Regions from separate parts of the Homo sapiens genome. Here region 1 is linked to region 2. Evidence: promoter capture Hi-C in 16 types of primary human blood cells and fetal thymus (Javierre and others, 2016). All regions are on one chromosome and are shown on one strand. Each heading gives the region's core, a stretch centred on a gene start or on the middle of the fragment in contact. The rest is flanking DNA. Distances are from core to core; before and after follow the strand shown. Region 1 has its middle 5.8 kb from the start of BHLHE23. Region 2 holds the start of CABLES2 (Cdk5 and Abl enzyme substrate 2).

Region 1 (3,566 bases), core at 271-2,770, 610 kb before region 2:
GTATTGGATGAGATCCCCGAGGGGGCAGACACAGCTAGGAAAAAGGCCAAAGGACTGAATCCCAAGCCCTCCAGAATGAAAATGTCGGGGAAAAGAAGAACCGGCAAAGGGGGCTGAGGATGAGTCACCAGGAGGTCACTCTAAGTATTAGCTGAAATAGTGATGATTTTACAAGGGGGAGGAAGGTCTATTGCATGAACTCTAAACTGGTCACCGCAGAATCAATGTTGTTCAAGACTGAAAACAACCATCAGACTTCCAGTTTCTGGTTATTAGGGACTAGTTAATCTGGACCCATCACTTTTCTGATGGTGACTACAAAAGCTGAGCAAAATGTTAAAAATATTTGCTTGGAATGCAAACAAACAAAATCCCAGAAAGACAAAGATCCAGAGTGAAAAAAGCCTTCGGGACGCTCACTTTTCCCCCAAAGCATTTGCTGCTTCAGATAGCTCACAGCCCACTGAGGAGCCAGACAGCGAGAGATTCAGCCCACCTGAGAGTGGGGAGTTGGCGAACATCCCCCCGACCCCCACCATTTTGAGTTGGGACAACAAATAACCGCACCCTAGACATAGGGGTGGATAGAAGGAGACCGGCTCTTGCAGCAACTCAGGGCCTTTTGCACCACTGCCAGGGTAGGAAAACCTAAACTGTAATCATCTTGAAATGATTTCAATCCCTGAAACTAGAGTAAGATGATCCAGGACCCCTAGTGCCCCCATGTCTCGCAGATGCAAACATAAACCCTCTCTGGAGGAAAATAAAATAGACCTCAAATGATTTCTACAAAATAATTTTACAAATACAATGTTCAGTCCACAATAAAAATTCTAGACAATTGAAAAAACAAATCAGCAAGAATGAAAGCAGCAGAGACCATAGGCAGAAGATCTACCAGTCCAGACACTGGAGTCGCGAGACAGAGACTGGAACAAAACTGTGCTTACAGCATTTGCAGAAATAGAGGTGGAATTTAGAATTTCAGCAAAAAAAAAAAAAAAAACCTAGAAAAACCAAATGAAAATTCTAGCACTGAAAAATAAAATCACTTAAATTATAAACTTAGTGGCTTTAATAGCAAATTCAGCTGAAGAGAGAATTAGTGAAGTGGAAAATAGGTCAGTAGAAAATATTCAGAATGAAGTATGGATAATACAAATGGAAAATACAGGTGACAGGTTAAGATACACAAAGGATTCAGGAAGAAGGACCAATATATTTGTAACTGGATCCCAGAGAGGAGATGAGAGAACATGAGGTTGAAGCAATACTCCAGAGTTAATAGCCAGGAAATTTCTAAAAGTAATCAAAATCATCAAGTCACAAATTCAAGAACCCCACAAACCCAAAAAGGATAAATGAAATGAATCAATTTCTAGTCCACTGTGTGAGAAGCTTGGAAACAATCAATCTTTTCACAAGAACAAAACGTGAGCAAACTGAAAGTCAATAATATTTCTTATATTCAACAGATGATGAGGTCACAGGGCAAACCACTGCCCAAAAAAGTTGTAGAGACGACAGACAGATGCAGAGAATCCCAATTCTGCAGAGCAGACACCTCCCTGGGAACCACTGCCAGGTTGGGAAAACCTAAACTGTCACTGGCAGATTGCTGGAGGCTGTGTGGCCAAGCTTGACAGTTAAAAACTCCAGGGCCCAGTCTTAGGGTGGAGGCCACACTTCTGTGAGTTTTACCTGCACAAACTCTACCAGATCCCCCAGGTAAATACCAGAGAAAAATCCCCTTGTGCTTTGGACAAGGGGAGGGGAGAAGTAGCACTTTCGAAATATGCCAGAGCATTCTGTTCTTCCTCTGCCCTCAAGAGAAACTATTTTTAACGTACCAGAGTTTAATCAGAGTCTAACCAACCTGGAGGAAGGGAAGTATCAACTCCAGCTCCCTCCAGTCTTTTATGTTGGGAAGGGAAACACACAGCCCCATTCTCTATCCCTCTTGTCTCATTTAAGAAGGAAAAACAGGATGGGCATGGTGGTTCACACCTGTAATCCCAGCACTTTGGAAGGCTGAGGCGGGTGGATCATCTGAGGTCAGGAGTTCAAGACCAGCCTGACCAACATGGAGAAACCCCGTCTCTACTAAAAATACAAAATTAGCTAGGCATGGTGGTGTGCGCCTGTAATCCCAGCTACTCAAGAGGCTGAGGCAGGAGAATCACTTGAACCCAGAAGGTGGAGGTTGCAGTGAGCCAAGATCATGCCACTGCACTCCAGCCTGGGCTACAGAGAAAGACTCCGTCTCAAAAAAAAACAAAAAAAAAACAAAAAAATGTCCAACTGAAGAAAGTGTTGAGTGAGCTTGTCATGCATTCCTACACAAAGAGTACAACCGCAATATATTCTACAATAGCAAAGCAAAATAAATAAAATCATTCCAAGTAAACTAGCTAAACAGAAAGGCTTTCCAAGAACTGGGCAGCTGTTGGAACCAAGCCAATAGAGGACTGACTGACAGCTCATCAATGGCAGAGACGTGAGCTCTAAAGCTCTCATAGCCTGGGTAATGGTCTGGAACGTAAAATCCCCACAGACTTAGGCTGGCCAGTTGACTATGCCAGGGCAACCCAGAGGTGGAGGAAAGTGGCAATTCTCCACATACCCAACCGTTTATGTGATTATGTAGACAGGCTAAAGTCTGTGCCTACTCAGTAAATAAATCACTCTCTGCATGATTCCAACTTGTGCCTAAAAGTAGAATGCCAATCCAGGTATTTATGCCCCCCATCCCTCTCATTTCTTAGGAACAGGAATCAGAGGTCACTGACTGGCTCACGGGAATAAACGGGATCAGTCTCTTGTGTTCCGTTGGCCTGTGGGGCTTTATAAGAGACAGGTTTAATTTGAGATAAGTGGACCCAGCTGTTTATTCCCAGAAGTTTAACTGTAGTTGGGGTACTAAGGAGAACTTGATAGAGTCCCCTCCACTTGGGGGGAAAGTTGATCTGCTGAGGATCCTTCCTTCCAAGTTTGCAATAGGACCCAGTCTCCCAGCTGGGTTGGAACCAGATTGTCTTCCTCAGTGGGGGAAGGGAGTCTCTGATTTCCATAGTCAAGGAGTGCGTTTTGCACTTGTCCTAAGTTGATCACATAATTCTGTAGCTTGAAAGTATCTATGTCTATTAGGAGGTCTGTAGTTAAGAAAGGCCTTCTATACATTATTTCAAAAGTGCTGAGATGCAGATTTCCCTTAGGGGCCATTCGAACCCGTAATAAGGCTACAGGTAATAAAGACCTCCAGGTTTCTGATGTCTCTTGGCATAGTTTAGCAAGAGTCCTTTTTAGAGTTTGATTAGCTCTTTCTACTTTCCCCAAAGACTGTGGCCTCCGTGCCGAGTCAAGGCGGCACTGAATTCCTAGGGCTGAAGATGTGTTTCGGGTAACTGTCGCTGTGAAAGGTGAGCCATTATCGCTCTGTAAGCTCTTAGGCAGCCCAACTCTAGGAATTATTTCCTTTAGTAGGAGTTTAGAAACCTCAATTGCCTTTTCAAACCGGGCAGTAGCGCACGCCTGTAATCCCAGCACTTTGGGAGGCCGAGGCGGGT
Region 2 (3,568 bases), core at 901-3,400:
GCTCAGAGTTCAGGGTGAGAGCCAAAGAAAATAAGGAGCGAAACTCATGAGCAGGGCCCTCTGCAGCCAAAGCACCAAGGTGAGCTGGGCATTTAAAACCACGCATCACAGGGATGGCAGGACACGGGCCAACGACTGGGCTGGGTGAGGCCTGGGCCAGACTGGGGTGCGGGCCTGACTCAGGGGGCACTGCCTCCCACCTGCAGCCTGTGACATGTCTGCCTGTTGTCCTGAGAGGCCAGAGGGACTGAACTCCCAAGAGGGAAGTCCAGGTGTGTTAAAGGTTGCTTTAATTTCTCCAGAATCACACGAAACAAAAGCCGTGTGTTCCCTACACACTGCCCGCAGGCCAGGTTGGCTTTTGGCCACCCATCGACACCCTGGGGAGGGGAGAAGACTGGCAGCGGGAGCCTAGCAAGGGGGTTCACCAGACCCAGGAAGAGACCCCGTTCCTTCCTCAGCATTCCTCCTTGTCCCTCAAAGTCTAGCTTAGCGCCAGCAAAGAAGAACTGGCTAGGGGCCCCCCTACTGCACAGCCGATCCCCAGGACCCGGCGCTGCAGCCAGCACGGACAGCTGCCTCCTGCCTCCTGCGTCCTGCCCTCCACCCTCACTCGCCCCTTTCTGTTCTCATCTGACACCAGATTCTCTGCAAGCTGCTGGTGTATGGCCCACCCTCCCCTGTCAGGCCCCTCCTCCTGGTGATAGCCAGCAGGGATGGAGGGCCCACTGTGTGCCTGCCCCAGCCTCAGCACCCTACAGCGCTGGACACACTCACTCCCCGCTCACGGGAGCCCCCAGGCACACAAGTCAGCACCCCATTCTGTGGATCCAGAATCCGCAGCCACCCCTCTGCTATGCCACCCAGCCCCGCGTTCTCCTAGACAGGACAGCTGCCCACCTTCCCCTAGGCCTGGCAGAGGCCTTGGAGGCCAACTTGGAAGGGCGGAGGGAAAGGAAATGGAGGTGCTGCATGCTGCGTGAGCCCCAATGGTGGCCCGTGAAGGCCCACAGGAGGGAGCAGGCAGGCGGGAGGTGGGTAGGGGCCTGAAGGGCAGGGGCCCATGCTAGGGGTGGTGATGAAGACCCTGTCTTGCCCACTCGCCCACTGCCTTGTTGGCCATCATGCTGCCTCCCCACACACCAGGTGCTCCTAGGGCCAGCGCTGTGCCTGTCGGTCCCACCGGGTCCCCAGCACCCAGCACAGGAGAGGCTGGGCGCATGCGGGCAGGTGCGAGGTACTGCAGCGCATTCGCGGACTGACCACTGCATGTGCCTGGCCTCCGGCCACAGCCCGACCCCCTCACTGAGCCAGTTTCATCCTGACAGTACCCTGAGGCTGAAATCATTGTCCCCTCTTTAAAGATACGTAAACCCATGAAAGAAAGCTGGACAGAGCAGGCAGGTGACACAGAGGTGGGTGCAAGGTCCTGAGTCCCTCCACAAAGATACAGCGGGTTCCCCTCCAGACTGCAGACAGGCTCCCGGGCTCCAGAGGCAGGCCCTGACCATCCCGGTGCCACGGGCTCACAGGTTCTGAAGTCAGGGGCACCCAGGCACAGAGAGGAAACAGGCCTGGGCACAAGGCAGGCTCAAGGTCACTTTGCTACTGCAGGAAGTGCAGGACTCTGCCTGGGGCTTTGATCCCAAGCAGGTGCCTTCTCCACTCAGACCCTCGTTCCCTTCTGTCAATGAAGGAGGCCAGATGGCACGCGGGCCCTTCCGGGAAGCGGTGGGGCTCCTCCAGGGGCCGCCCTGCGCCCGCTGAAGCGCCGCCCAGACACACCTCCGGACAGGGAAGTGTGCTGGGGCCTCACCCACGCCGCCCTGGGTCCGGAGCCTTAAAATGTGCGCTCGATGGAGGCCATCCGCGAAGGCCGCCATACAGCAAAGGGAACAGAAAGCGAGAGCCCCGCGGCCGCAGGTCCCAAGACGGGGACTCGAACCGGCGGGGAGGCGCGCAGCTCCCGACTCCCTGCTGCTGCGTCCGACCGCCTCTAGGACCCAGGGGAGCGCCCTGAGCGCGGCACCTCGCTGGCCAATGGGAGAGCGCGACGGCGATACATTTGCATGTGGGCGCGCCGCGGCCAATGGGCGGCGGGCGCGCGGGCGCGCGGGCAGGGGGTGGGGCGCTTCGCGGCGGCGGGCGCAGTCTGAGGATGGCCGCGGCCGCGGCCGGTGGAGCCCCGGGCCCGGCCCCCGGCCCCGCCGGGCCCCCGCCACCCGCCGCGCCGACCTCGGCCGCTCGGGCCCCGCCGCAGGCGCTGCGGAGGCGCGGGGACTCGCGGCGCCGCCAGGCCGCGCTTTTCTTCCTCAACAACATCTCCCTGGACGGGCGGCCCCCGAGCCTGGGCCCGGGCGGAGAGAAGCCCCCGCCGCCGCCCGCCGAGGCCCGCGAACCGCCAGCGCCGCCGCCGCCGGAGCCCCCCACCGGGCTGCCCGCCAGGACCCCCGCGCCCCAGGGCCTGCTCAGCCCCACGCAGGTGCCCACCGGCCTCGGCCTGGATGGGCAGCGCCAGAGGTGAGTGGGGGCCCGGCCAGGTCAGCCCAGGACGCGGGGTACAGGGACGGGGACGGGGGCCGGATCAGCCCAGGACTAGGGGTCAGGATTACTTGGGGCCTCATCAGCCCAGGACAAGGGGGTCAGGTGACCTGGGGCCTTGTCAGCCCTGGACAGAGGCCAGGACAAAGGGGTTGGGTTCACCTGGGGCCTTGTCAGCCCTGGACAGAGGTTCAGGTGACCTGAGCCCCTGTCAACCCAGGACACAGGGGTCAGGGTCAGTCTGGGCCCTCATCAGCCCAGGACACAGGGGTTGGGTTCACCTGGGACCTTGTCAGTCCTGGATACAGAACTGGGGGTTCCTGGGCTGGCTGAGGGTTTCCTCAGGCCCTGTCACCCCCCACACATAGGGTTCATTGTCCCCTGAATTCTCCCAGCCCCTGAATACGGGGTCTGGATCTCCACGTTGTCAGTGCTCTGAAATGGGTTTTAGGGTTCAGCCCTTATTACCCCTGAGACCCCCAGCCCTGTGGGTTCTGGACATGCCCCCACCCCCATCCACTGGTACCAGTGCCCGGGACACAGGGACACATGGACAGCCCTGTGCATCTCTTCGCATTCTTTGAACCGGGCCACACCGTCCATGCCCACCTCCTCAGACCCAGCATGTGGGCCGGGGTCCTCCTGGCACTGTCACTGACACCTGTTCCCAGAGGCCCCTGCACAGCCACATCTCCCATCCCACAGCCACTGGTCTCTGGCACCCCTCCTCTCCCTGTCACTTCCCTGCTGAGCCCCGCCCTTCCCCACATCACTCTCAGCTCGGTATCTTTGGGTCTGTCACACCCTGGGTCTCCACTGCTCCCCCTGCCTTGATTCCATTTCTGGGAACCACCTCAGCCCATCCCAGGGCAACCCCAACCATGAGCCCTGCCTGTCCAGCGTGTGCCCCCTGCCCAGATGGCCCCTGGCTGCCCGACACCCTGTGTCCTTCTCCCAGAGACCACAGGACCTGGGTGACCCTGCCTCCCACAGCCCTCACCTCCAGGAGTGACTGTGGGCTCTGGGC

The links. Contacts are between HindIII fragments. The CHiCAGO score rates a contact against its expected background, and 5 or more counts as called.
Region 1: a contact is called between a fragment that was not itself captured here and the fragment with the promoter of CABLES2 in region 2, in 1 of 17 cell types (total B cells). The highest score is 5.0, in total B cells.

The regions. Positions count from the first base shown.
Region 1 is chr20:63,010,999-63,014,564 of GRCh38, reverse strand. No RefSeq gene overlaps it. Among named protein-coding and RNA genes, the nearest start is that of BHLHE23, 5.8 kb to the right of the region's middle. RefSeq lists an enhancer at 1,478-1,627. The HindIII fragment of the contact is 240 bases long and covers 1,401-1,640 here.
Region 2 is chr20:62,405,867-62,409,434 of GRCh38, reverse strand. It overlaps CABLES2 (Cdk5 and Abl enzyme substrate 2), which reads left to right and starts at 2,150. Exons shown (of 10, transcript NM_031215.3): 1 at 2,150-2,520. The coding sequence starts at 2,159. It overlaps LOC105372709 (a long non-coding RNA gene), which reads left to right and starts at 2,541. Exons shown (of 2, transcript XR_936967.3): 1 at 2,541-3,568. RefSeq lists a silencer at 1,984-2,233. The HindIII fragment of the contact is 20,791 bases long and covers 1-3,568 here.